4 separate regions of the Homo sapiens genome follow, and all the other regions are linked to region 2. The links are contacts of gene promoters, found by promoter capture Hi-C in blood cells and fetal thymus (Javierre and others, 2016). All regions are on one chromosome and are shown on one strand. The core of a region is centred on a gene start or on the middle of the fragment in contact, and the rest is flanking DNA. Distances in the headings are between cores, read along the strand shown. Region 1 overlaps AURKA (aurora kinase A). Region 2 holds the start of RTF2 (replication termination factor 2). Region 3 has its middle 16 kb from the start of FAM210B. Region 4 overlaps FAM210B (family with sequence similarity 210 member B).

The links. Contacts are between HindIII fragments. The CHiCAGO score rates a contact against its expected background, and 5 or more counts as called.
Region 1: a contact is called between a fragment that was not itself captured here and the fragment with the promoter of RTF2 in region 2, in 16 of 17 cell types (neutrophils, monocytes, total CD8 T cells and 13 more). The highest score is 15.5, in neutrophils.
Region 3: a fragment that was not itself captured here is called in contact with the fragment with the promoter of RTF2 in region 2 in 1 of 17 cell types (activated CD4 T cells); the score reaches 5.2 in activated CD4 T cells.
Region 4: a fragment that was not itself captured here is called in contact with the fragment with the promoter of RTF2 in region 2 in 8 of 17 cell types (neutrophils, monocytes, naive CD8 T cells and 5 more); the score reaches 11.4 in neutrophils.

The regions. Positions count from the first base shown.
Region 1 is chr20:56,383,379-56,386,384 of GRCh38, forward strand. AURKA (aurora kinase A) reads right to left here. Exons shown (of 9, transcript NM_198437.3): 3 at 2,879-3,006; 4 at 892-946. Among named protein-coding and RNA genes, the nearest start is that of AURKA, 7.3 kb to the right of the region's middle. RefSeq lists an enhancer at 2,708-3,006. The HindIII fragment of the contact is 1,547 bases long and covers 885-2,431 here.
Region 2 is chr20:56,466,848-56,470,041 of GRCh38, forward strand. RTF2 (replication termination factor 2) reads left to right here and starts at 1,780. Exons shown (of 9, transcript NM_016407.5): 1 at 1,780-1,919. The coding sequence starts at 1,851. The HindIII fragment of the contact is 9,363 bases long and covers 791-3,194 here.
Region 3 is chr20:56,341,504-56,344,819 of GRCh38, forward strand. No RefSeq gene overlaps it. Among named protein-coding and RNA genes, the nearest start is that of FAM210B, 16 kb to the right of the region's middle. RefSeq lists a silencer at 2,450-2,744. The HindIII fragment of the contact is 1,432 bases long and covers 960-2,391 here.
Region 4 is chr20:56,366,898-56,370,069 of GRCh38, forward strand. It overlaps FAM210B (family with sequence similarity 210 member B), which reads left to right. Exons shown (of 3, transcript NM_080821.3): 3 at 1-1,766. It overlaps AURKA (aurora kinase A), which reads right to left. Exons shown (of 9, transcript NM_198437.3): 9 at 2,493-3,172. Among named protein-coding and RNA genes, the nearest start is that of FAM210B, 9.5 kb to the left of the region's middle. The HindIII fragment of the contact is 8,673 bases long and covers 1-3,172 here.

The DNA of each region.
Region 1 (3,006 bases), core at 408-2,907, 84 kb before region 2:
GAGAGTCAGTGACAAGGAGCAGTCTCGGGTTTTAGACCTGAAGCACTCTATGGGAAATGTCCCAAGCCCGTACTATGCTCAGAGGAACAGGGCCATGACAACGCTGAAGACCACAAAAAGGATAAGTGACCAGAGAGGGAGGAATGCTTCCAGACCATCTGGGGGCATGTTTCAAACTAACCCCAGCTGCTCCCTCCAGTCCCAGAGGTGCTAATTCTCTCTGGGTGGAGAACCACTCTGGTGGTGGAGACAGAGCCACTGTTACTAATGGAAGCGGGATGGAGCCCACAGGCTAGCTGGGGCATGAGAACCAGTGGATTTAGACTCTTAGCCTCTGTTAGACCGCTAAAAGCAAAAGAGTCTGTGGGTTCATTCCTCGCTCCTCCCGGTACATTCTAGAGTCCAGATAGTTCAGAGACTGAGAGGAGGCTTTTAGAAAAGCCCTGGGGAAGACATTACAGCCAACCTTTACAATAAAGAACTAAAACTATAATACTGTCAAAACCCTCAGTCATATATGAGTATATAGTTCTGCAACATATTCTATTTTTTAAAAACTTGCACTTTTGTACAATAAAAAAGTACAGACGCATAAACCATATGTAGTGGTTATTTCTAAGGACAGAGAGGAACTTCCACACATTTCTATAAAAGATTCATACAAGCTTTTTCTAAATTTGAAAGCCATTTTTTAAAGCACTTGAGTTCCTAGTAAAATACCTCATTACACAAAATTCCATTTTTTTTAAGATTGGAAATCTGGAAACATTTATATCCTCTAAATGCAAATAAAGGCCTCATTTTTTTCCCCAGAGTTCCCACAACGAAATTTGCAACGAAATAATATATTCTAGTAGAACAGTACAGAACTTTGTAAATAAGAAAGCTTACTTTTTTGATTCTTCATTTTTCTGTTTTGATGCCAGTTCCTCCTCAGGATTATTTTCTATATGGAATAAGTTAAAAACCTGTTTTTAGAATAACTATATAGGATAAGCTAAGCTGTGAATAGAGGTGAATCAAAGAATTGGTCACCAAAATATTAATGGTATGTCAAGAATGATAAATCTGTTTTTTTTTTTTAAAGTTTTCCTTATAGAAAAAAAGGACTACTACACCCTGACTTCCATCATGTGAAGCCTTTATAGAATTTCTAAAGATGAGCAGACGTATATATAGACAGGCCCTTCTCTGATAAATTAAAGGCAGACTATGCAGGCTCTTCTGAAGCCTCAGTTTCCAAAGAAGAGCTTTTGTGGCAGAAGTACCAATCTTCCCATGCATGACGAGCTGCCAACTCGTCACCTTTTTCCCCTTACTAGGTGGGCCAGCCAACAGTCCATACCCTACATACGAATTATCACCAACATGTAGCAAAACATAAGCCAGCCACCCTCCATTTATATTAGCTGCCAAGGGGAAATATAAAAATAAAAGCCACCAATTCAGCAAAATGCACAATGAACAGTTGTGCAGCAGAGGACTGGGGTAACTATTTCATCAGCCACAAGGACATATGAAACATTTCCACTGGTCTGTCTCCAACATAGCAAACTCGAACAGCACACAATGCTCTGCTCAGATATCTGGATGCTGGTCCAAACTCTTCCTCCAGATGCCCCTGTCACATGTGCACCCCTCAACCCCCAGGACACTCACTCAATTAATATCAATCTAATCACCATCCCTAACTCCTCTTTATTCATCTTTCAGGTACAATTTATTGCCCAGTTCTAATGAGTCTGCATCGTAAATGAGCTCTCAAATTTGTGTGCACCTCTCCATCCTGGCTTGTCTTTGGATAAGTTAACTGCTTCTGAGTCTTAGCTTCCTCCTCTGTAAAACTGAGTTAATAACTGGCTACCTTCATGAAGTGGTTACGAAGATTGAAAGAGATGACGTGGATGAAGCACGCACTTATCTCAGAGCCTGCAGGGAATGAGCACTCAACAGTTGGTAAATAATTGCATCCACTCTGCTCCACACAGAGCAGGTTATTGCCATCTCTGACCTCAACCTCCTTCCTGTCTGGTACTCCTAAATCCAGCGTTCTACTCCAATTTATTCAGTACTTCCACAGTAAATTTTTTTTTTTTTTTTGAGATAGAATTTTGCTCTTGTTGCCCAGGCTAGAATGCAATGGCACAATCTCGGCTCACCACAACCTCCACCTCCTGGGTTCAAGCCATTCTCCTGCCTCAGCCTCCTGAGTAGCTGGGATTACAGGCGTGCACCACCACGCCTGGCTAATTTTGTATTTTTAGTAGAGACAGGGTTTCTCCATGTTGGTCAGACTGGTCTCCAACTCCTGACCTCAGGTGATCCACCTGCCTCGGTCTCCCAAAGCGCTGGGATTACAGGCGTGAGCCACTGCGCCTGGCCTTCCACAGTAAACTTTCTAAAAGGCAGAGTTCCCTTCTGAGTTCAAAAAAGCTTCAGTAGCTTCCAAATGCCCTAGAGATGAGGCCCCATTCCTTAACATGGCCAGCAATGCCCATGGTGACCTCACCGCAGCCTGCCTCAGTTCACCCACTTCTCTGGATTTCCCCCACACTTTAGATCTCAGTCCCTTCAAGTCACTTACTGCAAGCACCCTACATCCAGACTCAGTAACAAGCAATCAAAAGGACACCAATTTATGCTGTGTCCTCCCTGGGTGCCCAACTCTTCCAAGAGGGTGAGAATCAGGTCTGTATTTTTAGCATAGGTCTGGCCCATGGGCAGACACTGTTACTTCAACCCAGACACCATATTTTCTCCCCATCCTCAACAGATATAAAAGCTAAGGCTCCAAACAATAAGTGCAAGTATATACACTGGCTTTTTTAGCAACGACGACAAAGAAGGACTATCCAATGAGTCTCAAAAGCTAGTTTACCAGGTGCCGATGGCAGGGGCTGCTTGCTCTTTTGGGTGTTATTCAGTGGCCTGGAGACAGGATGAGGTACACTGGTTGCCTGCAATTGCTTCTGCTTCTGATTCTGAACCGGCTTGTGACTGGAGACA
Region 2 (3,194 bases), core at 530-3,029:
TACAATGTGGAATAAAAGTCCTGGCCGGGCTTGGTGGCTCACGGCTGTAATCCCAGCACTTTGGGAGGCCGAGGCAGGTGGATCACCTGAGATCAGGAGTTTGAGACCAGCCTGGCCATCACGGTGAAGCCCCGTCTCTACTAAAAATACAAAAATTAGCCCAGCATGGTGGCGGGCGCCTGTAATCTCAGCGACTGGGGAGGCTGAAGCAGGAGAATCGCTTTGATCCTGGGAGGTTGAGGTTGCAGTGAGCCGAGATCACATCACTGCACTCCAGTCTGGGCAACAGATCGAGACTCTGTCTAAAACAAAACAAAACAAAATGAAGTCCCTACCCTCATAGAGCTTACAGTTATTGTGGTTAGCATAGAAATAAATCATAAATCAATCAGAGACCAACTAATTAAAGGGATTATTTTTTAAAATTCTCATTAATCACAGTAACAAGTACCCCAAGCTTACATATAGCCCTTGAAGTTTCCACATCCACGTATTTTCTGGGCAACTCTTCCCAAGTAAAAAATATTTTCAGCGTTTTTATGTTTCACGTAGGTCAATAGGGTAATATCCAATCATAAAGATCTGCCTTCTTGGCAATGGAGAAATTTTCCCATCATATATATGTACAAATACATACATACATACATACATACATATTAATGACAGAGTCTTGCTCTGTTGCCTAGGCTGGAGTGCAGTGGCATAATCATAAGCTCACTGCAACCTTGAATTCCTGGGCTCAGGCAATCCTTCCTACCCCCTCAGCCTCCGGAGCCGCTAGGACTACAAAAGCTTACCACAACGCCTGGCTAATTTTTCTTTTTCTTTCAAGATGGTGTCTCACCATGTTGTCCAGGCTGACCTGGAACTCCTGGGCTCAGGTGCTCCTCCCGTCTCGGCCTCCCAAAGTGCTGGGATTATAGGCACTTTCCCATAATATTTATAATAATTAAAGGAACAAACAGAGAGATAGACAATCGCCTAAGAGCAGACAGACAATCATGAATTTTTAGCAAGGGATTTGTGTTCTTATAGATAAAATACAGCCTGACTCTTGGAACGGGCATGGCAACATCAGTGTATATTTTATAAGAACTATTATATCGTCTATTAATGATACTTGATTGTTAATAAAATTTTTTTAGCCTGGGCTTCAGGAAACTGTGAATGAAATACACACACGCACAAACTGTATGCAAAATTTCACACACATGCCATCTACAATATGCATGGCAACACCAGAAAGTTCCAGGCCTTAAGGGAGGGTCTTACTTCCTAGAATCTGTTGTAACATCACTTCACAAGATTTGTTGTGAGTGCTTGAGTCACAGTTGGCGCTCAAGAAAGATGCGTTCTCCTTTTAAACACAAAAATGTCCATTGATACAGCAGATTCCGTTCATAGGCATCCTTAATCGCAGAAACAGGAGGGCGGCCCTTTTCCTCAAGGCGCTCTCAGTCCAGGGATGTGCCCGCTCCGCAGCCACACAAGCTGGCGTGGGATAGGGTCAAAGAGCGGTGGATGCGCACGGGCCGCCCACGCCCTCGCTGCCCTCCCGGAGCGTGGGCGAGTGATTCCGATTGTGCAGCAGAAACCCAGGGTCTCACGGGAACGAGGAAACCCGCCCACGCCCAGCCTCCAAGCGACGCTCTCCATGACAACCGGCACTTGGTAACGGCCTCGCCCTGCCCCGCTACGCCGCGCCTAGCGTGCCGCCCCGCCCCGCCCCGCTACGCCACGACCAGCGTGCTGCGTCACGGCGGTGCGCCGGAAGTGGCTGCGGATTTCGCCGGAAATCCCGGAAGTGACAGCTTTGGGGGTTTGCTGCTGGCTCTGACTCCCGTCCTGCGATGGGTTGCGACGGGGGAACAATCCCCAAGAGGCATGAACTGGTGAAGGGGCCGAAGAAGGTTGAGAAGGTCAGTGATGTGGGCCGGCTCTTGGCGACCGGGGGTGGTGGGAATTTGACGACCCCAGAAAACGAGAGGAAGTAAGAAGGGGGAGCCAGCGGAGTTCCAGACCTGGCTGCGGTCTTTTATTCCATTCAGAGGACTCAAAATTAACAACAGTATTAAGAGTGGACATTCAATGGGTGCTGACTATTGCCATTCACTGGACAGTAATCTTAACAGGGGGTATCTCATGTAATTATCACAATAGCCCTATAGCTACATACTGTTGTCCTCATTTTCAGACATGGAAGTTGAGGCTCAAAAGGAGAAATTTGCAAAGCTAGTAAATGGCAGAGCCAGGATTTGAACCCTACCTGCGACTAGTAGCAATAATACAAATACCTAGTGTATACTGAGTTTTGTATACACTAACTTCATTTGCTCAGAGAAGCCTTCCCAAACTGTTCCCTTACCACATCCTTTTATAAACTGTCTTAGCCTGCACACGGCTGTACGTGGTTGATTTGTATCAAGTCTTCCCCGCTAGACGGTAAGTTCCTGATAGCAGAGGCTGTACCCTTTTTTTCTCTGCAACTAGCATGGTTCCTGGCACACTAAATATTTCGAATAAACAAATGAGTGAATAATCCCTGATCTCACAAGTAATCGAGGAAATTATAATAATTTCTTTGCTACTGACGGGGACATTGAGTCCAGGGATATTAAGGTGACTAAGATCACACAGCTGGTAGGTAGTGAAGCCAGGATTCCCATCCACTTATTTGGGATTTCAAAGTTAGCACAAGTAATTACTTTTTAATGATAAAATATTTGTAAAGCACCTAGTAGAGACTTCTTTACAAAAATATTTGTAAAGCACACGTGGAGACTTCATGTATTCTGATTCAGGAGCTGGAGAGCTTGTTTAAAAGGTAAACCCCTTAAGTCACTATTGTATTTGAAGCATTCCAGTGGCTTCCCATCACATTAAGAATAAAATCTCGTCAGACCCTTGAGCAGACCTTGCCTATGTTTCTGACCTCATCTTCTGCCCCTCTCCACCTCTTTCATACTGTTCTAGCTAAACAGGCCTCTTGTTCTTCAACCTGGAGTGTGAGTTCATCAATCTGAAATACTCTTCACTGAGATTGTCACATGATGAGTTTCTTTACTTCATTCAGTTTTTTACTCAAATGTCATCTGTCCACTGTAACTGAAATGTGCCTCACTTCCAATATTCTCTCTTCTCTTCTTAACAGTGCCTACCACTGTGTTGTTTATTGTCTCTTTCCCACGTAGACA
Region 3 (3,316 bases), core at 426-2,925, 130 kb before region 2:
GGCTACAGTAACCAAAACAGCATAGTACTGGTACCAAAACAGATATATAGACCAATCGAACAGAACAGAGGCCTCAGAAATAACACCACACATCTACAACCATCTGATCTTTGACAAACCTGACAAAAACAAGAAATGGGGAAAAGATTCCCTATTTAATAAATGGTGCTGGGAAAACTGGCTAGCCATATGCAGAAAGCTGAAACTGGATCCCTTCCTTACACCTTATACAAAAATTAATTCAAGATGGATTAAAGACTTAACTGTTAGACCTAAAACCGTAAAAACCCTAGAAGAAAACCTAGGCAATACCATTCAGGACATAGGCATGGGCAAGGACTTCATGACTAAAACACTAAAAGCAATGGCAACAAAAGCCAAAATAGACAAATGGGATCTAATTAAACTAAAGAGCTTCTGCACAGCAAAAGAAACTACTATCAGGTGAACAGGTAACCCACAGAATGGGAGATCTTGGTTCACTGCAACCTCTGCCTCTCCAGTTCAAGCAATGCTCCTGCCTCAGCCTCCTGAGTAGCTGGGATTACAGGTGCCTGCCACCATGCCTGACTAATTTTTGTATTTTTAGTAGAGACGGGGTTTCACCATGTTGCCCAGGCTGGTCTCGAACTTCTGACCTCAAGTGATCCACCTGCCTCAGCCTCCCAAATTGCTAGGATTACAGGCATGAGCTACCACACCTGGAGAAGATTCTATTTTTAAACAGGACCAGAGATCATCTTGAACAAAGGAACTCACCCACTGGTACATATCTCAAGAGGAAAGCATAAATACACTGATGCACTTTGGCATCTTGAATTAATTTTTGTATAAGGTGTAAGAAATCATTCCATACACTCACATTCTATTAGTATTTATTCATTTACTAAGACTTACATATGCCAAGATTGCTGCAAGCAGCCAAACGAGATTCATTCCATTCTATAGACTTTATAGCAAGCTTGTCCAACCCACAGCCTGAGGGCTGCATGGGCTTTGAATGCAGCCCAACACAAATTCATAAACTTTCTTAAAACATTATGAGTTTTCTTGTGATTATTTTTAACTCATCAGCTGTTGTTAGTGTTAGTGTATTTAATGTATGGCCCATGACAATTCTTCCAGCGTGGCCCAGAGAAGCCAAAAGATTGGACACCCCCGCTTTATAGCATTGTTTGCAAACTGGTGATTGCCAGGGCCCCATGCAGCATTCAGAAATATTTGGTTTGACCTGTGGATTTTCTTTTTAAACTCACTGCCAACATTTAAAAATCAGGAGATTTTACATTCTTAAAACCCAGATATTCAGCTTGGATCAGTTAGCATTTTCTGTGTAACAACCAACCATTTACTCTCTCTTGTTTTTGTCATTCAGCAATTTGGGCTGGGCTCAGCCAGATGGTTCTGCTGGCCAGGGCCAGCCTGGCTGATCTCAGCTGGGCTTGTCCATGGGTTTGTAGTCAGCTGCCAGATCAGATGAGGCAGGCTGGCCAAGGGTGTCCTCGGCTGAGATGCTGTACGTGGTCTCATCTTACAGTGGACTAGTTTCTAAAGACAAAAGCCAAAGGGTGCAAGACATTTTGAGGGCTGGGCTCAAACGCACATGCCATCATTTCTGCTGTATTCTATTAGCCAGAGCAAGTGTTAGGCCAGCCCAGACTCAAGGGGTGGAGAAAGAGACTCCACCCTGGATGGGAGGGAAAGAATTTGTGGCCATTTTTGCAATCTACCATACAGTTATCTTAAGAGATCAGTGGATGTGGCCACCTTAGGCCACATGGCCAGCGGTATCCATGTGCTAGAGCCCAGAAGCAGCTTCCTTCCTTAGACGGGTGTGTTTCTCCTGCACAAGCCTTGTCCTCGCTGCTTCACTCATTTATACGACCATCTGGCCCCGTGGGCAAGGGAGGGCTTGCCATTCCTGATCCCAGAATGATCTCCCTCCTCAATGTATCCCAAAGCCATGCCCAGCCATGAACGCAATTGTTGTGCCATACCCAGAAATCACTTTTCACTTCTCAGAAAATCTCTCCCTCTACTTCCCCTATTTCCTTCCCCTGCCAATAGCTGGTGGAAGAATCTGCGGGAGGAGTAGGGAGAGGTTATTCAATAACCTGAGGATTTAGAAAAAGGGCAGTTTGGGAGCCAAACAGCCTTGGGTTCCATGTTGGTTCCACTCCACTCATAATCTCTCAGTTTCCCCATCTGTAAAACTACCTGCTGTGTTGCCATATTCCTCTTTGAAGATATTGTGTCAAGTCGTACGTAGTGCATAAATGGGGACTCATTTTGATGTAATGGAAAAAATTAAGAAAAAAAGAAAATAGAAGAGTAGTTAATGTCAGTTGCCTGTTTAGCTCTGCAGCGCCCAAGCCTGATGAATTTACGACAAGCTTCCAAAAAAGGCAATTGCGGCTTGCGGAGGGTCTAGAGGCTCAGTTGCCCGAGGCTGTCTTGAGGAGCTGCCTTTGGGACTCCGCGAAACCTCGAAGTCTTGGGCTGCGCCTCCCCTTGCGCGGTCGGAGCCTTGGCAGAGCCTGCGGCGCCACCTCGTGGGCGAGGCCGCCTGGTGCAAGGTCATCCGGTGCCGGGACCCGCTCCTCGCCCCGCCAGGACCCCCGCTCACCTCCAAGCTGGACGCCCGCGGAGCCCTGATCCCCTAACGCCCGCTTCCGAGGCCGAGCTCTGCAGCCCCCTGCAACCATCAGATCCAGATTGCCTTCCTGCACGAGCGCGCAACTCTCAGCCTCGGAGCGTGCTGGAAATGCTGATGGGAACCGTTTGAATGACCGGGCACGGGTCTGCAAGAAACTCAGCTCCCAGGCCAGCCGTGGCTCAGGAAGCCTCCCACGTCGGGTAGAATCCCAGGAATCCACCCTTGCCCCCATCCTCCCTTAACTTCCCCAAGCCTCAGTTCCTTCATCTGCAAAATCGAAATGGTGATAATTCCAACACCAATAGGGGTGTGACCATCTGCACCAAGCACTCAGAGCCTGGCATAGAAAGTGCAGCTCTTCTTATTAATTAGGCCTGAAACTCCTCTGCATAATAGTAATGTAATAATAGTAATGTAATAACAATAATAACAAATAGTAGTCTTCACTGTCATCATAGTAAATGGTAGCAGGTACATGGGCTATGCACTTATTATCTCCCAAGCACTAAGACTCTTCCGTGTATGGAATGTTTTTTGTTTGTTTTGTTTTTTTGAGACGGAGTCTTGCCCTGTCACCCAGGCTGGAGTGCAGTGGCACAATCTCAGCTCACTGCAACTTCCGGCTTCCAGGTTCAAGCAGTCCTCCTGCCTCAGCCTCCC
Region 4 (3,172 bases), core at 290-2,789, 100 kb before region 2:
TGGGGCTGATTCCAGATGGTTTTTCTGAAATTTCATTAAGGTAGGTCAGCGTCATTTGTCTCTGTTTAGGTAAAATATAAAAACCCTGCCCAGTAGCAGTGGCATCGCTTGGTTCCTGATGCCCATGTTCCAGAGGAATTCGGATACCACAAACAGCTAAGACAATCTCAGCTTTTCTTAGACAATCTTCTATCTCAAACTTCAGACATTCCAGAATTGTCATGATGTTTACACTGTCTGAGTTAAAAATCCTGTTCAAGAAAAAAAAAGATTTTGTATCACTTCTTAAAAAGGAATATTCATAGCACTTGTCACAAATAGAAGGCAACCATGAGATAATACAAGCCAGGGAGAGGCTTGTATTACATGACAGGTGTAATTAGTCTGCTGAGCCAGCTTTACCCAATGAAGGGCATATGTGTTAGAGAGATTAGCTAAGAGTAGAAATTCGAGCATAGAGGCCAGGTGCGGTGGCTCACGCCTGTAATCCCAGCACTTTGGGAGGTTGAGGCAGGCGTGTCACTTGAGGCCAGGAGTTCGAGACCAGCCTGGCCAACATGATGAAACCCCGTCTCTACTACAAATACAAAAATTAGCCGGGTGTGGTGGCACACGCCTGTAGTCCCAGCTACTGGGGAGGCTGAGGCAGCATTGCTTGAACCCAGGAGGTGGAGGTTGCAGTGAGCCAAGATCACACCACTGCACTCCAGCCTGGGCGACAGAGGGAGACACTGTCTCCAAAAGAAAGAAATCCCAGCGTAGATCCAAACTGAGACACTGAGGCTTCGTCCTTATAGTAGTCAGGAGCAGGCGATTGAAGTAATTCTGTCCTGCGGGGTTCAGCATCATGCACGTTCCCCCTGGGCCATTCTCTGATGCAGGGCACTTGCTCCACACTCTGGGAACCCAGATTCACCAGTCTGCCCTGTCACGTAGTTGAAGGAGTTGCATTTATCTTTCTGGCTCCTAATTCCTTTAAAATTACATTTGTTGCAGAACCTCCACAAGGCTAAATAAAATTACATTTGTGACCATCAGAGAACTGAATAAACCATTAACTGGCCATCCTGGTTTTGCAGAGATCAGGTTGTTGACAGTTCCTGGTTGACCCACAGCTACCCATGTCAGTTATCTCCACTAACATATCCAAGAATCTTTGTAGGACAATTTCTCCACCTGCAAGGTCTTTCAGGTAGAACTCTTCTTTTAAGGCAATTAGCCCATTGCCAAAAGGTTTTACTGTCTTAAAGCTGTCTTTCTGAGATCTAATTCCAAGGACTTCTCCACAGCTAAGTGAGATGCCTCACACCATTAGGTGATGCTTTGGACAGAACAGAGTATTTTCATCTTGTGTTTAAAGCAATTCCTTGGCTTCGGCTCCTCACCACTTTCTATGCCAGTCTCCCATTTATGTCCCTAGTAATGCCTATGCAAAAAAAAAAAAAGAAAAAAAAGAAAAACTGATGGTGAAACCTACAGGTTTAAGGGCTTAAATCTCAAACTTTGTTAGGAGTAACAGGAGCGTGCTGAGCGGGCAAGCAATAAAACAAATCATACCAAAAAGCCACATTGCTCTCTCCTAAGCCCCAACCCCACTCCACTCCTGTGGCCAGGGGTCCAAACAGAAAATAACCGGAGAAGACAAGGAGGTCAAAGGATCAGGGAACTAAGCATTATGTGAATTCACCAGCAAGATGTACAGAACGCCTGTGTTTACATTGTTTTTATGGAACTAGCAGAATAAAACATCTATTTTAAAAATGAAAGCCATTGTTTCTCTAATTTATCTGACAAAGTGAGCAGCTTAAATTCTGTGAAACATCTTTATAGTTTATGAACTTTTTTATATTCCTTCTGGTAAGCCATGGTTGTTGCTGATGATGAAGTGGCACTGTGACCAGTGTATTAATGTGCTACTACAATGAGCTTTTTCTTTGCTTGTGTGGGATTGTCTGGGGAAACGTCCCAAGTCTCACTGGTGTCACTGGGAAAGTCAGTCACGTGATAATAACTATAGCTTGGGAGGGTGGCACATGAACTATTTGGGAAGGTCAAAGTCAGTTCAGCTCAAGACTATGAGAACCAGAAGCCCCTTTGTCCCAAGGGGGCTGGCAGCTGCAGTTTTACTGAGTCATGTTTTTAAGTTTCTCTATATTGGCCACTTTGTTATGACATATCCTGACATACCTGCTGTCCAGTTTCTTGCACTGAGCATTGGCCATGCAAGCAGATTTCTCTACTAGCTCTAAGTTCAACACTTCTACTTTTCCTTCATCACAGTCACTTTCACCGTATCTTTAGTCGATGGACAGATGACAAAGATATGACAAATATATAAACAATATATATAATGAAGTATTAGGAGTACACCCAACAGGAGAGACCAGAAGAGGCAGGACTAGATGAGGGCGAGACCTGCTCCTCTCAGCCCCTGCTCATTTCCAGGCCAACAATGAACAGATGGTGGAAAGAATTACACAGCACTCCACACAGACATAGATACTTATTTATTTGCATATTTAAAGTTTACACACATGCTATGACTCCAATGTTTTAAAAAAATAAGCCCTTAACAGCTCTGAGACACATGGCCTCTTCTGTATCCCAAGCAAATCCCTAAATGGAGGTAGAGCACGTGTTCCTATTTTTCACACTCTCATATGGGAGATAAGTGGTTAAGGAGGACTAGAAACCCAATCAGGCCTACCGGGGTGCCGGACAGACACACAGCATTCCTAAAGGAATGCCACCAGAGAAAAAATACAAGTCTGTACATATATCTTTATTTTCATACTTAAAAAGAATCACATACTCATTCCAACAGCTTTACCAGGCTTCGCCAACCCAATAAGTTACACACTCACTCAGGTACTAGGAAGGTTATTGCACAGCTCCTTAACTGATCGGGGTCAGGGCAGAGTGGTCACTTTCCCCACAGCCAGGCTCTGGATTTGCCTCCTGTGAAGACACCATGCCTAGCACAGGCTGACGGGGCGGCTGCAGTCGAACCTTGCCTCCAGATTATGAACCAGTATAAGTAGCACAATTCTCGTGGCTACTTTCACTTCAGAGTGTCATGTTTATTGATGTGGAGCTTTCTGAATAGGGAGGTTAAGGCACACCTGCTGAGTAAAACAAATATTTCTTGTGTAGCGTTCTAGATTGAGGGCAG